Regions from separate parts of the Homo sapiens genome. Here all the other regions are linked to region 5. The links are contacts of gene promoters, found by promoter capture Hi-C in blood cells and fetal thymus (Javierre and others, 2016). All regions are on one chromosome and are shown on one strand. The core of a region is centred on a gene start or on the middle of the fragment in contact, and the rest is flanking DNA. Distances in the headings are between cores, read along the strand shown.

Region 1 (4,259 bases), core at 1,133-3,632, 490 kb after region 5:
GAGTTGACTGTATAAAATTAAGATAAATAAAAAACACAAGAGAGAGTTTATCACAAACTTTTAAATACTATTCATATACCGTTAATTCAAAAAGCTATAATTACAACATAAACATTATTGATAATGTAAATATCTTCAAAATGCATTACTTGATGAATTTACATTTGTAAGTTATTAAATCAATATCAGATCAAAATCTTCACATTAAAAAATAAAGTATGCAGACTTCCAAGATATACAACATAATAGTGGACGATAGTAAAGTAGTTCTAAAAATTATTTTAGCTTTGTTTCTGAATTTTTCTTCGTTAATTTATATTTATATGCAAATTTTCATCTACTACGTATACTTAGGCTTATTTGGAAAAAGGCATAACAAATTTTATAGAATATACTTACATATATAAATAATCCATCTCATTTACCCCTTAAACATCAATTTATATAAAGAAATGCACCTATCTATAGGTACAAGAATCACTGAAATTTTTCTGTGTGTAAAAGTACTGAAAAAGTCCAACGGTCTAATTGTTATTGGAATGTAATAGTTACATTACACTCGAGGCTATTAAGCATGCATTCCTTAACCTAATTAAGTGTTCAAAATCATGAGATTTAATTTTCATAGGAGCAGAGATCAATATTATGATACTTATTTTTCTTAAACTATTTCTCAAAACCGCTAAACCTTAACATGCTGTTCACTCCTAAAGTGACAAATACAGAAAATCAGTGGGTTCTTGAAATATGCTACCAACAATCCTGTTCAGAAATGAAAGGCCAATACTATATTAAAGAAAAAAAAATGAAACCACAAATAAGTAACAGAATTATAGCAGGCCCTACAGTGTTGTAGAAGCTCAATACTCGACTGCTCTGCTGCTGGAACAACTCCAGAGAGAGTTAACCTGGTGTGATAAAAGACTTGACAAAGCAATTCTGACTGTGCAGCAATGCTAAGTTGTGGACTAATACAAGAACAGGAGGCCCAATCGCTGTCTTTCACCATGCACAATTTACACATGGCTTTATCAATAGCCTTAGTGCTGAATACAGAACACACTCTATTTGGCTTTCAGTCAATTAAGCCTTAAGCTGTCAGCAAACAAGACTTTTAAGTTAATTTTGAATCACCACGAATCAAGTTGAAGGTTGTGAAAGGGCGGCTCACACGCCGGCATGAAAAAAGGCAGTTTAATTGCCTCTGAATAGCTATTATATGCTGCAATTGGCCTATTGAATCTTAGATGATCTATTTATTTATCAAAGTGCAACCATCAAGGATTAGAAAAAGAATATAAACTGTACTTTCGCTGTTTCACGTAATTGATGTATTTTACAAAAGTATTTAAAAATTCATATTTTTAAAGCAGATTTTTTAATGTAAAACATTTGTGAAATAGAAAGCAAAACAGTTAACATAGAAATAGAGCAATTGTATTTCTAGAAAAACAAAGATATATTTTTTAAAAGATACACTTTTTACTATGTAATATTTTCATGTATTATATGATACAAACCAATGGTTTAGAACACATGTACTCCTTCATAAATATTTATATTGTAAATGTTCATGAAAAAAAAAGAGGCAGAAAAAGAATTATAAAATTGAGCTAAATCAGATTTTAAAACAACTTAATTTAACATTCCTTAGATTAACTGCATCATTAATTGTGTGAAGAAAAAGAACACCAAATACATCATTTTAATAAAGACATTTTTTTAACTAAGATTAAGGCTTAAGAAAATAGCATAATCAAATTAAAAGGATTATTATATTCCTAAACTGCATGATACTTATTTTCAAGAAAGACTGTGGTTGGTCACAATCCTAATGAGTTTTTTCCTGAAATTATTTTTTTCAATTGCATGAGATCTGGTTTATTATTATAGGGTTACTCATGAGTGCTGGATGTGTATATTGATTTTTTTATTAGAAGAGGGCACTGAAGCATTAGGTCAGTTGCGGGGAGGGAATGCTCAGATTTGTAAACAGATGTAAACATAGATCAAATTTAAGGATGGTAAAACTGAACCATTTTGCTTTAGCTGGGATGAGCTATGGTTCTTTTTTCACATTTTTACAAGTCAGTCTTTCAAGAGTAAATGTATTGAAGCATGCACTCATGATTACATAGGGAAATCATATGGAGATTAATGGCTATAAAGTATTAATGGTTATAAGAATTTAGATAGAATACGAGTTAATTTTAGTGTTCCCTCAAGAACAGTCACATATTCTTGAAAGCATGGGCCCATCATTCTGTGCTTCCAGTCAGCAGAGGCGATGGGCTTGGGAATCAGTACTGACTACCATCATTCCAGGAATTACCACACATTCGGGGGCTGAAATTCAATGAAAGAGTATGGAAACCCTTTCTCCTTCCCTCTTTTCTCATCCATTATTATAAAATACTTTTCTTGCATTTATATTCTCAAAATATCTTAGAATCATTTACTAGTTATACCCCACAAAAATCAATGCTACTAAAACCATAAAGATAAAGACATTAAAGGAGCGAATGCCTATATGACTTCCAAGGGAAACACAGGAAGGAAGCAGATGAAGTGTGAAGAGCCGGACTACCCGGGATAACACAAAGTAGAAGCCATATGAAGAAGGGATATTCTTCCTCATCATTACTAAGACGTGTTAACAAAAGACCTAAGTTCAATGGTCACAAATGTTCACTGCACATTTCATTTTATATTTGTGTATTTTATATATTTATACAAGACACAAGGTGTTCGAAATTATTTCGTTTTACTCATACAAACATCCATTTATTCAAAATGGGTGGGAAGGCATACTAGGGACTAATAACAGGGTTTCTGCCTTTTTGTACCTTACATTCAGGGGAGGAAGGCGAACACATAGACATACAAATTCCAAAGTATAATAATACTAAGAGCAAGCAAGAGAGTGACATAGAAAATAAGGCAGAAAACAATCAATTTTAGAAAGAAATCTCAAGGATAAAGAAGAACCTGAGGCACGGGTTGATAAGCTGCCCCAGTCTTGTGGCTAGGGAGTGGTGGGGCCAGGAGGCAAACCAGGCAGACCACCTCTAAAGCCAATGCTTTTACCTACTACCCTAAAGAAACAATAAAAATTAGGTATACTAAGGTGTAATAACCCTTTCCTCAAAGATATCAGAGCTTAATAGGAAAGTAAAGATAAATTAACAAATAACTGAAAACCAAGGAAGAAAGCAATACTTATCAATAAGCAAGGTCAACAACAATAAGAAAGTCATAGATATTCAGAGGAAGTTGACCTCAGTAGACAAAGGGGAGGACCTCACAACAGAAGTGTCACCCCAGAGAGGTCCCTAAATCCATTCAGATTTGACAAGAAGAAATAAGGGTGCACCTAAAGAATAAACCACAGCAGAAGTTGAATCCTATCCTGACCACCTCCCCTCATGGCCACCGTCTTCTTCATCTTTTGCTCTTCTCTAGTCTTTTGGCATAGCATCTACCATCTTCTAATATATTATAAAAAATACACTAATTTATTCTACTTACTGCCCCTCAACCCCTTCCCCCTGCAAGAAGGCAGGGGTTGAGACGACTTCTGTCATTTTGCTTGCAGATGTTGCTCAAGGGTTTAGAACAATGCCTGGCATGTAGGTGCTTAATAAATATTTGAATATTTGATGCTAAATAAATATTTGTTGAATTAATGAATCAAGCCTAGAAGCAGAACAACTCCAATTATACCTGGGAAAGAAAAACCAGTTTAATTTGGCCCAAGATAGAGATACTGAAAACAGTAAGTGGGAACTAAAGCTAGAATGTGAAGTAGGCCAGCACGGTGGCTCACACCTGTAATCCCAGCACCTTAGGGGATTGAGGTAGGAGGATCGCTTGAGGCCAAGAGTTCTAGACCAGCCTGGGCAACAGAGCGAGACCTTGTCTCTACATTAAAAAATAAATGATAAAAATCTTAAAATAAAAAAAAGAATGTGAAATAGTTTTAGAATATAGGGGTCTTCTATACCAGGCTAAGGAGATTATATTCTAAAAGCAATGACAAGCCACGGAAATTTTTGAATTATATGGTGATTATTAGGAAGATCATTCTGACAACTGTGCATTTAAGAGATTTGAGACAGAGGCAGTAGCTACTAAAAGGGTAGTGGCAGTGAACATGGAAAAGAGGAGCTATTACACAGGAATAAAAAGTCTGAGCTAAAGAGAGTGAAGAGTCAAACATAACTTTAAGGTTTCAAATCTGTACAAATGGTGCTAATAAA
Region 2 (3,831 bases), core at 185-2,684, 360 kb after region 5:
TCTTTCTTACTCTATAATCACTCACACTTCCAAATCCATAGCTATGGACTGCCCACAGGCTCAGTGTTGTCCATAAACCTGTTTTGTTTGGTCCACATAATGTCTAAAATTTTTAGAGTTCTTTTTTCCCCCCAACAGGGTTAGGCAATCTCTAGTCTCATGGTCCCTTGCCTCCTTCAGGATTACTCCAACTCTCATTTGGCCAGTTTCTCCAATATTTAAAAAATGAGGCCGGGCATGGTGGCTCATGCCTGTAATCCTAGCACTTTGGGAGGCCAAGGCAGGCGGATCACGAGGTCAGAAGATCGAGACCATCCTGGCTAACACGGTGAAACCCGTCTCTACCAAAAATACAAAAAATCAGCCGGGAGTGGTGACGGACGCCTGTAGTCCCAGCTACTCGGGAGGCTGAGGCAGGAGAATGGCATGAACCCAGGAGGCGGAGCTTGCGGTGAGCCGCGATCGTGCCACTTCACTCCAGCCTGGGCGACAGAGCGAGACTCCGTCTCAAAAAAAAAAAAAAAAAAAAATGAGGAGAAGGTGTACGGTAGCTAGTAAGAGGTGGTGCTATCTTCATAAGTTGTGTCCAAAGCTGAGAAAGGCACATGCCCTGACTTTCATCACAGGAGAACAGGCAGTGAGCAACCCAACCTGAATGGGAACTGAATGGAATGAGAATCAGTCTAGTACCTAACAATACAATTTGGTGTACTAGTGAGGTAGTAAGTAGTTGTTGGGTTTAGGAATAAGTGAGGAAAGAAGAGAACCCGGAATGGGGAAATGGCATATGCAAAGGTCCTGGGGTGAGAGAGAAAAGCTGAGATTGAAATAACAACAACAAAAAGTCAGCTGGTGTAGCCTGAGCACAGAGGCTGCAGGGGAGAGCCTGGTGAGAAAAAGCTGGAGCAATAGGTAGGAGGGTAAGACAGAATAACTATGGTATATATAAGTAAAGCTTACCTCCTAAGTATTATTAGTAATATAAACATTTACATCAACTCAGCCTTTATAATATTTGCATTTTAAAATCATGATGGAAACTTTTCCAAGTGTACAACAGCAGACAGAATAGTACCTATAATGAACCTCTGTGTACCCTTTGCCCAGCTTTAGCATAATTTTGCTTCATCCAGGTTCATCTTCTTTTTCCCCCTCTCATATTGTTTGAAAGAAAACCTTAGAAATCATATGTTCTCATCTATAGGATGTTTGTTTTTAATGTAACTTCCTACTATTGTGAAAAAGAAGTTTAAAATGAAACGTAAAGGTGGAGTGAGGTGGCTCTCACTAGGCTCTGGAGAAGCACAAGGATTCCCATATGGGCTTTTGGTCCACAGCACCTCTGATTCCCTGATTGCTCCAAGTTCCTTTCCTGCTAGGCAACACTGGCAGCAGCTTCTACTGCCACTCACCTAAGGACTTCAGGTCTTTGTTTCAGACAGTTTTACCTGCCATGAATGGCAATGCAGTTCACGCAATGAAAGGAGAATTCTTGGGTCTTCAGCTCTGTGCCCTTTGGTTTCCTGGATTTAATTCCAAATTCTATGCTTTTATATACCAGCAATTTTGTTTATAGTTTTCTGCTTAGGATGGCCTAATCTTTTTAAAAACCAAAATTAATTAAAAAATAGGAATAGTAAGGAGTCAGCTTATGCTTTAAGAAGTGTTAACTTTCCACTTAAAGAAAGACATTAGTTTTACATGGTCCTGTTTGCTCATTTAGTGGACACTTACTATAGACTTGGGTTTGATAAATATTTTAGTTTAAAATCCAAAGACTGTTTTAAGAATGAACAAACTCAGCCATGTAAGTGATGAAGGCTGGGTGCCATCGAGAGAGCAGTCAAGGTTTAAATAATATTCTGGACATTTTCAATGTAGGAACTGTACCTACGGGAATAAAGGTAAGCTTGGAAACTTATAATTCTTATTAAGAAAAAAATACTCTATTGAGACAAATAAAATTACAGGTATAATCAAGTATCATAAGTTATTTAAAAAATAAGCACCAAAAGTCCTGGCATTTTTGGTTGATAGAAATTCTTCCTAAAAAAGTCTTTCACTTCGCCAGGGAAGTTATTATTTTAATTTCATAAGTAGATTAATAGTTTCAGCATGCATTAAATGCCTAACTACTTGACAAGACCTTCTGAAAATTGCATACAAATTAGAGTAGAAGTTGTACTAAGAAGAATTTTAAATCTCTATAAAATGAACAGACTCTTCCAGTTCTTATTTGAACATCAAAAGATAAAAAAGACCATCAAAGAAACTAATTACTTGGAAAAAATATCATTTTTTAAAGCCATAAGATAATTCATTTATTGGAAATTTTGTGAGGAGCTTGAGAAAAATTAACTTTCAAGGATTTTCTTTAGAATATGACATCTAAGTAAAACAAAGAACTCAACTCCTCAGTCTTATTAGCCACATATGGCTAATGGCTATCACACTGGAGAGTACAGACACAGAATATTTTTATCATCACAGAAAGTCCTAATGAATAATGTTGCTTTAGAAGACACAGTTAAATTCATGCTGAAAACATTATAAAATTAGCCATGGTATTCTCACCATTTTTTTTTTTTTTCAAAAAACCATACACACATATACTCCTGAGAGTTATATCTAAAAGGTGGCATCTTTTTCTCCTTTAAGAGTCAAACCAAAATTACTGTAGATAATTCAATTTTTTTCTGTTAAATACCAAATCAGAGCCAATATAAAAAAACATAAATTATTCTTCCCTGAAATATAATCAATTTACAAGAAACCGGAACAAAAACAAGGCTACAAAACTAACATTTTTCTCCATCCCCCTCTCCCTTGGTCTATTATTAACTGTGATAATTGCAAATAAGTTAAAAAGAATTTCCTAAACCAAACATCCAATTAATATTCCCTATAGAACTTCCAACTATTTAATAACTTTTTTTGAATTAAAGCACAACCATGCTTCTTCTGAATTTATAAGAATGCCCAATTTTTTTTATTGGAGTAGGGTCTATTAACTGCTGCAAAATTGCGACGACTCTATACACACACACACACACACACACACACACACACACACACACACACACTTGCCTTCCATGAGGTCTTTCTTCTGAGGAAACTTACCTTTAAAAAATAAATTTATATTTTTTTCAAAGATGTACTTGCATGTTCAACTGATACCACTTAAACAATAAAATAAAAGCTTATGGGTTTAAACTTTGGCTTATAAATCTGAGACCTGAACTAACAATTTTATAGAAGCACCAATTTGGATTGGCTGAGAAGGTGGGCAAGGAAATGTCAATTTTGCCTCAACTGGAGTGCTGCACACAGGCAGCAATGATATCAATGAGCAGCAATGTGGTATGTTTATCATGAGATAATCACACCCCTAGAGGTTTAGAAGCACTCAGCTGAACCTTATGCCTCACAACACACTTGGGGTGTCATTATCTCATGATAACCATACTCCCTGTCAAGCCTTATTGCTTAATTAGGGGTTACGAAGGTGATAAGACTAAAAGAAATCGGATGAACAGTACCTAAGATGAATGATACCTTAATCAACTTAAATCTGGTGGCTGAAGGAGGCGTGATGAACAGACACAATGAGTTACATGTTATTTTTAGAGAAATTTGTTAATAATAAATGAGGAGAAACCCAGTCTGCATTCCCAGATTATTTGAATTACATTTTCCAGGAGACATGATATTTATGATTAATAATTTAAATTGTGTTTTCACACAGTATGTAAAATGTTCAAGAAATTAATGATAACATGAAATTTAACTTTGACCTAAGATATCCAGCTTATGCATGACAGTGATTCATCA
Region 3 (3,674 bases), core at 725-3,224, 470 kb after region 5:
TAGAAAAGTGATGACAACAGTACTCTCTTACATAACTAGGATAATGAGATGTAAACTAACCTACCCAGCATCCAGCCCAGAGCCTGAATGCAACCAATCAGCAATTCATTTATTTACCACCTTCCTGCTTTTTTTTTTTTTTTTTTTTTGAGACGGAGTCTCGCTCTGTCGCCCAGGCTGGAGGGCAGTGGCGCCACCTCGGCTCACTGCAAGCTCCACCTCCCAGGTTCACGCCATTCTCCTGCCTCAGCCTCCCGAGCAGCTGGGACTACAGGCGCCTGCCACCGCATCTGGCCAATTTTTTGTATTTTTAGTAGAGATGGGGTTTCACTGTGGTCTCAATCTCCTGACCTCCCGATCCACCCACCTCGGCCTCCCAAAGTGCTGGGATTACAGGTGTGAGCCACCGCGCCCAGCCGTTCCTACATTTATATACAGATATTTGTACTAAGCAATGGAAAAATTCTAAATGAAACAGCATTTATTTTCACTCTCCTTGCAGGAAAATATCAAATACAAAAGGATGGTGTTGAGAAATTACACAAAATATGTTAGACTTAATCAGTGGTCTTCAAAATAGGTAACCCTCTTCAAACAGGAGTATATTAAAAGTTTCAAGGAATAGGTAGTTTTAGAAGCACAAACAGTTTAAGACCTAGGTATTTTAAAGGAATTGATTTCTGGGTGCTAAATTTGCTAATGAACTCCTTCCCTAAAACTGTGAGGGTAGAAATTTCCACTTCAAAGAAAATAATAAAGGATTTAAGATTTCTGATTTTTAATGGGAAGTTTGTTCAGGTATTTATTAAAAATTGATGATGATGGATATGAAATAGTTAAATATTCTACTGAATATATTAGAAAGAGCCATAAGTTTTATTTTTAAACATCAATATTCACAATCTCCTCAAGATACTGTGAAAATATATTTTGCAATTAAAAAGTTGTAGCTGTCAACATAAAATGTGCAAAGGATTAGACATTTCTTGACACTCTCAGGGAGTTATTGAGCAAAAAAGTTTGAAAGCCACCACACCAAATCATGTCAAAGCTTCATTAACCTCTAATAGTCTAATGCCAAACTTCTAAATAAGGACCTGCTCTACATATGTTAAGTCCTGGGCTGTCTGAAGTGACAGATAAGCTAGACTAATTAAAGAGCCCTTTGTAGAAATGGTGAGATTTAAGCAAGGTTTTAGGAATGGATAGCAGGGATCTTGAAGAACTTGAGAAAAGATAAATAAGCCCGAGTGGGGAGGTAGGAGCCAGTAAGCATGTAGTTGTTGGCCGTAGAGGGAGAGTAATGTGCCCAGGTGGAGAAGGGAAACGGTTCTCAGGTCGCAAGACACTTGAGTTCAAGTTTAGGTTTTACTACTTTTTGGCTGAGTCACTTTGAAGAAGTCTTAAGTTCATTTTGAAGATCAAATGAGGGGAAAGACAGGAAAGAAAGTGTTTTTTAAATTGTAAAGTTATAGCCAGGTGCAGTGGCTCATGCCTGTAATCCTAGCACTTTGGGAGGCTGAGGTGGGTGGATCCTTTCTGGTCAGGAGTTTGAGGCCAGCCTGGCCAACATGGGGAAACCCCGTCTCTATGAAAAATACAAAAATTACCCAGTCATCGTGGCCTACACCTGTAATCCTGGCTACTTGGGAGGCTGAGGCAGGAGGTTGCAGTGAACCAAGATCATGCCACTGCACTCCAGCCTGGGTGACAGAGAGAGACTCTGTCTCAAAAAATAAAATAAAATAAATCAATAAATTGTAAAGTTACAGCACATATTAGTCATTAAGCCCTTTCCAACTGGGAGCCACTGAATAGCAGCAGTTTGCATAATGGTCAAAAGCATGAACTCTGGAACAACAGACTAGATGGAAACAAAAACTCCTTTCCCAGAGGTATGATCCTTGCCAGGTTAACTAAACCTCTCTATGCCCCACCAGCTTTATGCATAAAATCGAGATAAGAGGGATCCACTTTACAGGGTTATTATGAGGATGAAGTGAGGTAATGCATGTAAAGAGCTAAAAAAAAATAGTGCTCATAATAGTTGCATCATTATGGTTGGTGGTGGTATTGTTTAAATTTAAACGTTATTACTCTGATTCTCAAACTGAGATCAAGAGATTATCACTAATAAGTATTTGTTGAATGAAGTCTTTCAAAAAACAGTTATAGGAGGGGCAGCTAAGTCTATTGAAGGGCTTTTATAATAAAAGTCACTAACATGGCCCTCAGTTTTACAGCAAGAGTATGTGGCAATGGTCCAGTGAAGTTCACTGCTGTCATAAATAACAAAGTAACATGCATCTTTTTCTCTTGCTTAAAGGCCAAAAAAGCAAAAGGATCTATTGCATTTTGTTCTACAAGAATATTTTGTGATGTATTCAGTTGGACTATATTTGTTCCTTAAGAGGACACAATTTATTAGAAATAATTTTGCTATATGGTGCCACATGCCACTCTGACCTTACTGAAAGGAATTCTGACACTGAAGAACCAAAAGAGCTTATTTTAAAGCACCCTTACCTATTATTAACATACCAAGCACAGAACCAAAGAGAGTAGAATGACACAGCCCTTTGAATTTTGATTGTTATAGTCTATAGTCATTTAAAAACTGTTACTGGAATATTTTTTAAATTACAGGGTTAATTCATAATTCATCATGTATGCTCTTTTTCATAAACCCATGTATTATTTATATGTATTATCACATATACAAATTTATTAATATGCCCATTAATTTAACAAATATGTGTTGAGAATTTATTTATTGAAAGGAGAATGAATATATTTTCTTTTCAAAAGAAAAGACTGGTGTTCCACCCCAGTCCTGACTTTTCAAACCACATTCAGAACAAACTGCATAGTTTTCCAGAAATTATTTTAAAAGCTTTAACTTGAATCTAGCTTTCATAAATTCTGGCTAAAATCTTGACGAACAATGCAAAAATACAAAGGTCAGAAATGTGTTATTTTAAGAATAGCATTTAAAAGACGATGTTTTAACTTTTAAAAAGGAGTTCAGGTTACTGTAACTAACGGGAAATGTGCCAGATTGTACTGCTTTCTAACTTCACGCAAGCAATCTAAATGAGCTAAAACTCAGGATATAGTCAATGTTATGAGATTTTGCTGACAAATAATATGTATTCAGAAGCAACAGATCAGCATTAGAAGTTTTAAAACTTACAAGTATGTCTGGCCAGCGAGTAGTTGGATCCACCACTAGTCAACCCGAATCCCTCAGGAATTTGGCTAGAGCTTCGAGGTCTGGTCAATAGTTTAGGAGGTTCAATTTCAGCACCAAATTCAGCTCCTATTACTCCAAGTAAAACAATAGCGGTAGCTTGCTTCCGTCTTTCCTCGTAAGATGTAGAAATTTTTTTCATTTGTGGGACACTTGATAAGCAACCTGAAGACCAAAACATAGAATCTCAACTTAGAACAAATCAATATACAAAAAGACACATGATTAGAAAAACATTCAGGACTGCACGTTCGGAAAGAATAGCATTTTCAGCAAATGGCACTAGGACAAATGGTTACTCACAGGCAAAAGGATGAATTTAGACAGACCCCTATCTCTAACCTTCCAAAAAAAAACCTGAAAATTGATCATAATCCTAAATATAACAGCTAAAACAAAAAACAACTCTAAGAAGGCAACATAG
Region 4 (3,980 bases), core at 1,141-3,640, 320 kb after region 5:
CCAAACCACAGAGAGTGCCAGTGAGTTTCTGGAGGGAGAGCTTACCTCTGCACTTCTGCTCTACTGTCCTCTGGGAATAAGTTGCCTTTCCCAAGCCAGCTCTCCAGGGAAATGAATGATTAGAAGCAGCAGGGCTAGCGGAGCATACGGATTTCAACTGAGGATGTTTAAGATGAGTGAACACTGGAAAAGGTAATATTGTGAGAAAAACAGTCTTCAATACAATTGTTTTATTTAACACACATATGTACACAGGAACATTCAGCACACATAGAGTCTATTAAGTGGAATCATTAAGAAATGTCTGGAGAGGCAGACATTTTAATTCACTCGCTGTACACAGGGAGTTCAATCATCACATTTTCATACAGGTGTCACGTCATGTCATCTTTTGCTTGTAAATTACCAATGAAGCCACATATGTCTCTACATATACAAGGACAGGTCCAAATACAGTGCCAGTGAAATCAATAAAACATTAAAGGTGTACGCTGGGATGACAATGCAGAGTTTACCTCAGTGCTGAGAAATCTAAGCTGGGATGAAGTTTGGGACTGTGGCTATTAAAATAGCCAAGGAGAGATTTATGTTAACAAGAATGCAGATATTAGTTTAGTAGTTAGAGATGACCGTCTAATCATCAAACATCGTCCACCCCAGGGTTTTGCAGCCATAGCTTTCTACTGGCCTTGGTTGCCTGTGCAGACGGAATACGTGAAAGGCCTACCCACGCTTGTGGCCCAGGGCTATTGCTCCTCTGGGCCCCCTGGCTTTGTTCTCAACCTTCGTGGCGGGGGGAGCCATCCGTGTGTTTGCGGCAGGCTGCCTACCACTCTCACACCTCTTTCCTGACACACAGAACATTTTTGTTAAAGAAAATGCTAAGGTATACATTTACCTCATCATTCCAAATAGAGATGTAGTCTACAATAAATTAATTTCCATTTAAGTTCATAAAGTAAACATATGTTGGGTATAGAGAAGACTCTGGACCCACTGGAAAACAAAGTGAGCCTTTTACCTTACATTTCTCTAGCTATGCCAAACACAACAGCACGTTCACCAAACAAATAAAGTCTAAACTGTATAGGTCTTTGTTTCTTCCTTGGAAACTACATATATAATCTTTATAAATACAATGTACATGCATGTGCCTAAATTCACTTTTGAAAGAATACCCAACTCTAAAACCAAGGAACAGTATAGATTTGCCGTCAATGGAAATAACATCATATCATTATGAAAGAGATGATCTAATGGTCTTAATTTCTTAATATGCTCTTTAAAAATCTGTTTCAGTGAAATAACCAATGTTTGTTCCTAGACTTTGATCCTACTTTTTTGTATATCAGATAAACTCTGACAACCTAAACTTTTAAGACTAAATTCTCCCATTATCATTTTGGTTCCTTTGTAAACTTCACATATTTTCTCTGAATTTAACAAATAATTTTCTATTTTTGCATGTAATAAATGATTTTGCCCAACTAACCAACCAATCAACAATTAGGCAACCAAACAACCCCTCACAAGTATATACAGATCAAGGTTTGTTAGAAACAATTCATACAAAATATAATTCTATTTTTTTCATTATTATGAGCTAGAACCAGCACAATCTGACATAAGAAGAAAGTGGTCTAGTTAAAGCTTACTTAGAAGCATAATGAACACCCTCATTGCAATGTTTGCTCAAATAAATCGAGAGCCCACATATTTTTATATACACTCCTGAACATTTGTGCCATAGTTATTACTTTTCCAGAATACTTGTTTAAAAGAAATACCTTATTAGCTTTCCTTTAGTTGATCAGTAGTAGTTTGAAGGCTGAATTATAATAATTTCATAACTGACATATGCCACACATATGGGAACTACAGGATTGCAAGTTTTCCGGGGGAAAGGGGTAAGCTCTTTCTTCAACAGGATCTGTAGCAGTAGATAGGAGAGTCTTCATTTTCGGTACACGCTATGCTTCTGAACTTGGCTCTTTATCACAAAAGTCCCTTCAAGAGATTAGTTACAGTGACTGGATAATTACATTAACTAGATCATAGGGAGTGATTATTTTTATTTTAAACTACTAAATAGACTATCATTTAAGCAAGAGATGAGCACTTCAGAAGGCTAAGTGTCTGGAAAACTATTTTCTACAAGGAAAATATTTTTGTGTACATAATTAATCATGAATCTCAAATTGGTTAGCTGTTGATAAAGAAGGTGGTAGCTAAACCCTAGGAAATTGGATTGAGTAATTTCCTAGCAATCACCAGAAGAAAAGAACATGTAAACACAGAATCTTTTTGGTAAACAATATTTTAGGTAATTCAAAGGGCAATAATTTCAATCGTGAGGACTGCCACATGACCTCAACACCCAGTGTCAGAACGGCCAGATTCAAGCAGCACTTCAGAGGTGCGGTTGAGATGGCTAAAAATGCTGATCTGGGCTGGGAGTGCAATCACAGTGTTTATTGATTTTTGTGCTTCTGTTGCACCAAGCAACAAGAGCGTTCCCAGGAACCACTGGCTTTCCCCTGCCATCTCTGGCAGGGAAAAACTACCTGGTGACAGGATGGCCACATCCTGCAGAGCATGTGTGCGTGCCTCTGAATCGACAGATGGCACGAGCGGGTTCTGCCCCTGAGAAGCATGCACAAGTGACAAGACCCGGCCGTGCCACTGGATGGCACTGGGGTGGGCAGGCCCCTGGGAACAATCTGGTGTGAGGAAGGACAGAGCAACATCGGCTTGGATAATTTAGAGAACTAAAACGCAGTCACGGCGGCAGGCAGCAGCATTAGACCATGAAGCGGTGCTCCTTCCCGTCATGGGCCATGAGGATGACGTTGCGGTTGGAAGTCCAGATGAGCCGGGCCAGCTTGAGGGCATTGTGGGAGCCGGGGGACGCGGGCTGCACAGGGGGCACCTGGTAGGTTTTAATGCAGCGCAGCTGAGGTGCCGAGTTCAGCATGCCGATGCTTCCCAGCAGTGACGTGTTCATCTGGAGGGACAGGAGAGCACATGTGTCACTTGAACAGCCCTCTCCCTTTCCCTATCACAGAGACTGGGTCGATCTCTCCTGGCTACTTTCCCCTCCATCATGGTTATTCTCCTTCACCTAAGCTTGTTCTTAACCTCTCAAAAGTTCCTTTCAGTGTGCTTGGAATTGTTCCGATGCTGTTATGGTAAATGCAGAAATCTAGAGGAATTTTATAGGGGTAGAACCTGACAAAAGGAGAGTCCATGGATCTTTAGGAAGAGGGCTAAATTATACCTCTTAATAAAATGGTTCATTTAGACAACACAGATATTTGGAAATTGTGGATATTTAAAACTGAAGACTTTCATGTTCTTTACCACAATGCTAACTGCACTCACTCCCTGAAGGATGAGTCAGCGAAGACAAGTTTTGGGATTTGTAATTAGTTCAAGAAAAGGAAGCAAAGTTAAGCAGTAGATAGAGTGACAATTGGATCAAATAAAGCTCAAGACTCCCTTCCACCCCCATTTCCCACCTACTAATACCTTCACTCTTCACTTGCTTTTTAAAAACTCGCTTTCTGGAAAGCTCTTGCTTATTATAAAGTGCAGAACCAGAATCAATTTCATCTCAACACTATGTCTGTGCCTCACTGTTTTGCTATCATACTAAGGAGAGTCTGCTGTTAATATTTTATTGACAATACCTTTTTATCAATTGATAACTTCTGCTTTTTGGCAGTTTTTCTGGATTTAAATTTTAGGTTTTCTTAATCCAGCCACATAAATGAAAAACAACATGGAAATTATGAATCATGAACAACTATGCATTCAGGTTGAAGTACTAAATACTGAATGGTAGCTGTCTAAGTGAACTGTTTCCTAAGCAACTGAGTCTGAAGATTTCTTTAGATTCTAAATATTACTTAAAATATCTTCAATAGCATTATGTGTGCTATTATAATATCACATGGAAAGAATACTGAAAATCTGGAAAG
Region 5 (3,788 bases), core at 143-2,642:
CCCAAACCCACGTCCGATTTCACTTCCTATAACTTGGCTGGGGACCCCCGGGGGCCGCCGGCCTACTCCGCTCCTCGGTCCAGGCGAGGCTCCTCTGGGTTCCTCGCCTCGGTCCCAGCTTGGACCACAGGTGGCACTTTGTAGTTGCCACCTGCCCGTCAGGAGGCCCTGCTGGGAGAGTTCCCGGGGTCACAGAGCGGGGCGGGGGCTCTCGCAGAGCGGCGTCAAGCTGCGCCTGGAGCCTTCACAGGCCGGCCCAGCGCGGAGCGGTGACTCCGACCTGGCGAGGGTGGGCGGCCCTTCCGAGGCTCGCTTCCCGCAGGGGGCGGGGGAATTGCAGAAATCCCGGAAAGCTGGTGGGGGGCGGTGGCTGCGGGGGAAAGGGTTGAGAGAGAACGCCCCAGGGGCTTCCTGAGAATAAACCCGCGTGTCCTTTGATAGGCGTGGGGGAGTAAAGGAGGAGGGCGCGAGGGGAGTCCGGCGCCTGCGCCATTAAACCGCCAGCACCGCCCCGGGCCCGGCCCGCGGAGTCTGCGGACAGGGCGCGGGGAGGGCGCTCCCCTCACGCCTGTCCATCTCTGCTCGCCGCCCCCTCCCGAACAAACACACCGTCTTTCCCTCCACCCTCACCCTCCTGAAAGCCTCCCCCAACCCCCATTTCTGAAATGAGGGAAGGGATGCTGAGGAAGAATACGAGAAATGCAATCACATCGATTTGGACAGCGGCTTCTAGGGGCTTTGGGTTAAAAAAAAAATAACAGGGAGGGGGAAGGGAGAATTAGAGAGAGGAGTGGAAGGACCGCGCAGTTATCTGGCCCAAAGAGTCTCGGAGAGGCCAAAACACCCCTCCCCCACGCCTTCCCTTCCCCAAACACCCCATCAACCAAATTCCCGAGGGCACTAACACAGAGGCCCGCACTCACCGGAATCCCGCGTGGAACATGTACATTCGGGGCGCCCCCGGGCTGGCGTACTTGGGAGTGGTGAAGATGTTCTCCTTTTTCAGGGACACGTAGCTGATGAGCGATAAAATCAGCAGGGCGACGCTGAGCATGACCAGCCCCAGCACACTGGCGACCCGGGCCATTTTGCAGTTTCTCATCCCGGGCTGGGCTGGGTTCAGGGAAACCGGGGAAATCGGTCCATTGAGCGGCCAGCAGCTCGCTGGCGTGTATATATGTGTGTGTGTGTGTGTGTGTGTGTGTGTGTGTGTGTGAGCGCGCGCGCGTGTGGCGGAGGAGGGGGACCCGGGCGGGGGTGGGGGGAGGCCACCGGGGCCGGGGGTTGGGGCTGGCAGGAGCCCCGGAGAGCAGCGGGACCCCGTAGGCAGGGGCGCGCGGGGCCCGGTGCCGAGCAGGAAGATGGAGGGGCTGCGCGGCGGCGTGGCGAAGGAGCGCGCAGCGCCGTGCGTCCCCGGCCGCCGGCTCAGGCTCCCCCGCGCGTTTCCAGCGAGGCTGCCATCTCCTCCGCCGCCTGCAAGATAAATGTGATTGGAATAATGTTACAGTTCGATCTAAGCACAGGATTTAATTAATGAACTCTAATCTCCCAAATAACCGGGGGGAGGGGGTGCAGGAGAGGGAGGGAGTAGAGGGAAATGGTGGAGGGAGGGGGACTGAGGCTGCCAGGCTGCAGCCCGAGCCTACGGCCTCCCCGGCTGAGGGTGCCGGCGAGGAGGTGGCTGTGGGGAGACGGGATCCCAAACTTAGTTTAATGGACCATTCATTACTTTATAATATCACGGAATAGAGAGACAAATAACCGGATTTGCTGTCCTGGAGGGTAAACAACAGCTGGGTGCTTCTCAAAGAAGCAGGGAGGATGGTTTTTGGAAGGCAGCTATTTAAAAGCATCTCCCCTCGTTAAGGCACCGCCCCGGCCCCCTGCCCCCGCCATCCTCCCACCCCAAAGGAAGCTCCAAACAGCAACTGGGCCTGCCTGCCTCGGGAGCCCTTAAAACCTTCTTGGAATTTGCCAGAATGACTCCCCTGTGCGCCTTGTATGCCCACCACATACTTCACTTATCCCTAAAGGGTGGGTAGTGCCTAGCAAAGTTGCGAGGTGACCTGTGAGTCGGGAGGGCCTGCCTTCCTCTCCCCTTTCCGTCTTCCAGTGGATGGACAATGTGCTTGCCCCTGACTTGACTGGGCCTGTTGAAGTCAGCCCTGGTTTAACTCTCCGTTGCCCACTCTTCAGATCCATCCTTCGGGCCTGGTCTCCTGATGGGCTAGGTGGCCTGAGCCTCCCAAAAGCTGAGGCCATTAAAAAACACAGAACTTTTTATGAAGCAGCCCAAGAACCAAATAATAGAGGCTGCCTCTGAGAGTGGAAGGCAAACGCACTAACACTTTGCATTGCTTGACCTTAAATTTATTTTAGCATATTCACGTGTTTCTTGTATATCCATTAGAAATACAAATTAATCCATTTTCAGTCATGCAGTTGGGTGCTCAGGGGAAACTAGCATGTTTCTTTAGCTCTGTCCTTTGCAATTAGCTTATGGCCTCTGCTACCCTAGCTTTACTCTTCGCTTGGTCCTCCCAATACTAGTTAATAAGCACTAATGAGGGAAGCTAGGGGTGAGAAATTGGCGTTTGAGTTCTGATAAAACAAGTTGAGATTCTTCCAAGATGGTTATGACTTCTTTCTCTCCTGAACTTCTTGCCTTGTAGGCTTTCATGGACCTAATGTTATTATCTGTCTGGAGGCTGTAAATTCCTTGAAGGGGTGAGCTCCTGGATTGTAAGCTTCGGCAGAGCAAGGCTTGTCTTACTTCTCCAATACTGTCTCTTACACATGTCATGCTTGCTAAATGTTTGAAGACCTGATGAGCTCCCTTGGGAAACATATCTGTGTGGTTGTGGACAGTGGCACAAAGAATGCTCCTATTTGTTTCCAGTGACAAAGGGGGTCACTTTGCACCCACTAGAGACTTTTTAACCAAAATCTAAAAGTGTGTGTCAGGAGGACACAAATAACCTCCTTTCCTCTGTGGGGCTTTTTTATTATTTAAAAAAATTTAGAAAAGGCTTGCATGCCTGGATATGATGAACACTTGAACTGTATTTTTTTAAATTGCTATTTTTTAAAAATGATTGTATGAGTAAGGTGTAAAATGCCAAAGGGAGTAAGATCTTAAGAGAGCCATCTAGGAATGACACCTGTTAGAAAAAGTCTTCTTGAACCAGAAATCAGGAAACATGCTATGGAGAGGCAGCCTGGGGTAGTGTTACACCTTCAGACTGTGGAGCCAGAAAGACCTGACTTCAAAAGCATACTCTGGGTATTATCAAAAACACAAAAAATAACAAATGCTGGCAAGGATGCAGAGAAAAGGGAACTCGTATACACTGTTGGTGGGAATGCATTCTAGTACAGCCACTATGGAGAACAGTACAGAGGTACCTGAAAAAAACTACAAACTGAACTATTATAAGATCCAGTATTCCCATGACTGGGCGTTTATGCAAAGGAACGGAAATCAGTATGTCAAAGAGATATCTACCACCATGTTTATTGCCACATTGTTCACAATAGCCAAGATATGGATCAACCCAAGTATTCAACAACAGATGAATGGATAAAGAAAATGTGGTATATATACATAAAGGAATCCCATTCATCCATAAGTAAGAATGAAATTCTGTCATTCTCAGCAACAGGAATGAGCCTGGAGGACATTATGTTAAGTGAAATAAGCCAGGAACAGAAAGTTAAACACCGCATGTTCTCACTCATACACAGAAGCTAAAAAAGCTGATCTCAAAGAAGTAAAAAGTAGAACAGAG

The links. Contacts are between HindIII fragments. The CHiCAGO score rates a contact against its expected background, and 5 or more counts as called.
Region 1: a fragment that was not itself captured here is called in contact with the fragment with the promoter of ST8SIA3 in region 5 in 1 of 17 cell types (endothelial precursors); the score reaches 5.5 in endothelial precursors.
Region 2: a contact is called between a fragment that was not itself captured here and the fragment with the promoter of ST8SIA3 in region 5, in 2 of 17 cell types (endothelial precursors and M1 macrophages). The highest score is 5.3, in endothelial precursors.
Region 3: a fragment that was not itself captured here is called in contact with the fragment with the promoter of ST8SIA3 in region 5 in 1 of 17 cell types (M1 macrophages); the score reaches 6.3 in M1 macrophages.
Region 4: a fragment that was not itself captured here is called in contact with the fragment with the promoter of ST8SIA3 in region 5 in 1 of 17 cell types (M1 macrophages); the score reaches 5.9 in M1 macrophages.

Annotation. Positions count from the first base shown.
Region 1 is chr18:56,858,165-56,862,423 of GRCh38, reverse strand. The region is part of intron 20 of WDR7 (WD repeat domain 7); the gene reads right to left. Among named protein-coding and RNA genes, the nearest start is that of WDR7-OT1, 180 kb to the left of the region's middle. The HindIII fragment of the contact is 4,950 bases long and covers 1-4,259 here.
Region 2 is chr18:56,987,843-56,991,673 of GRCh38, reverse strand. All of the region lies in intron 26 of WDR7 (WD repeat domain 7), which reads right to left. Among named protein-coding and RNA genes, the nearest start is that of WDR7-OT1, 50 kb to the left of the region's middle. The HindIII fragment of the contact is 954 bases long and covers 958-1,911 here.
Region 3 is chr18:56,879,685-56,883,358 of GRCh38, reverse strand. It overlaps WDR7 (WD repeat domain 7), which reads right to left. Exons shown (of 28, transcript NM_015285.3): 21 at 3,194-3,415. Among named protein-coding and RNA genes, the nearest start is that of WDR7-OT1, 160 kb to the left of the region's middle. The HindIII fragment of the contact is 1,842 bases long and covers 1,054-2,895 here.
Region 4 is chr18:57,026,028-57,030,007 of GRCh38, reverse strand. WDR7 (WD repeat domain 7) reads right to left here. Exons shown (of 28, transcript NM_015285.3): 28 at 216-3,004. The coding sequence ends at 2,801. Among named protein-coding and RNA genes, the nearest start is that of WDR7-OT1, 12 kb to the left of the region's middle. The HindIII fragment of the contact is 1,476 bases long and covers 1,653-3,128 here.
Region 5 is chr18:57,350,161-57,353,948 of GRCh38, reverse strand. ST8SIA3 (ST8 alpha-N-acetyl-neuraminide alpha-2,8-sialyltransferase 3) reads right to left here and starts at 1,392. Exons shown (of 4, transcript NM_015879.3): 1 at 924-1,392. The coding sequence starts at 1,102. The HindIII fragment of the contact is 6,120 bases long and covers 1-2,749 here.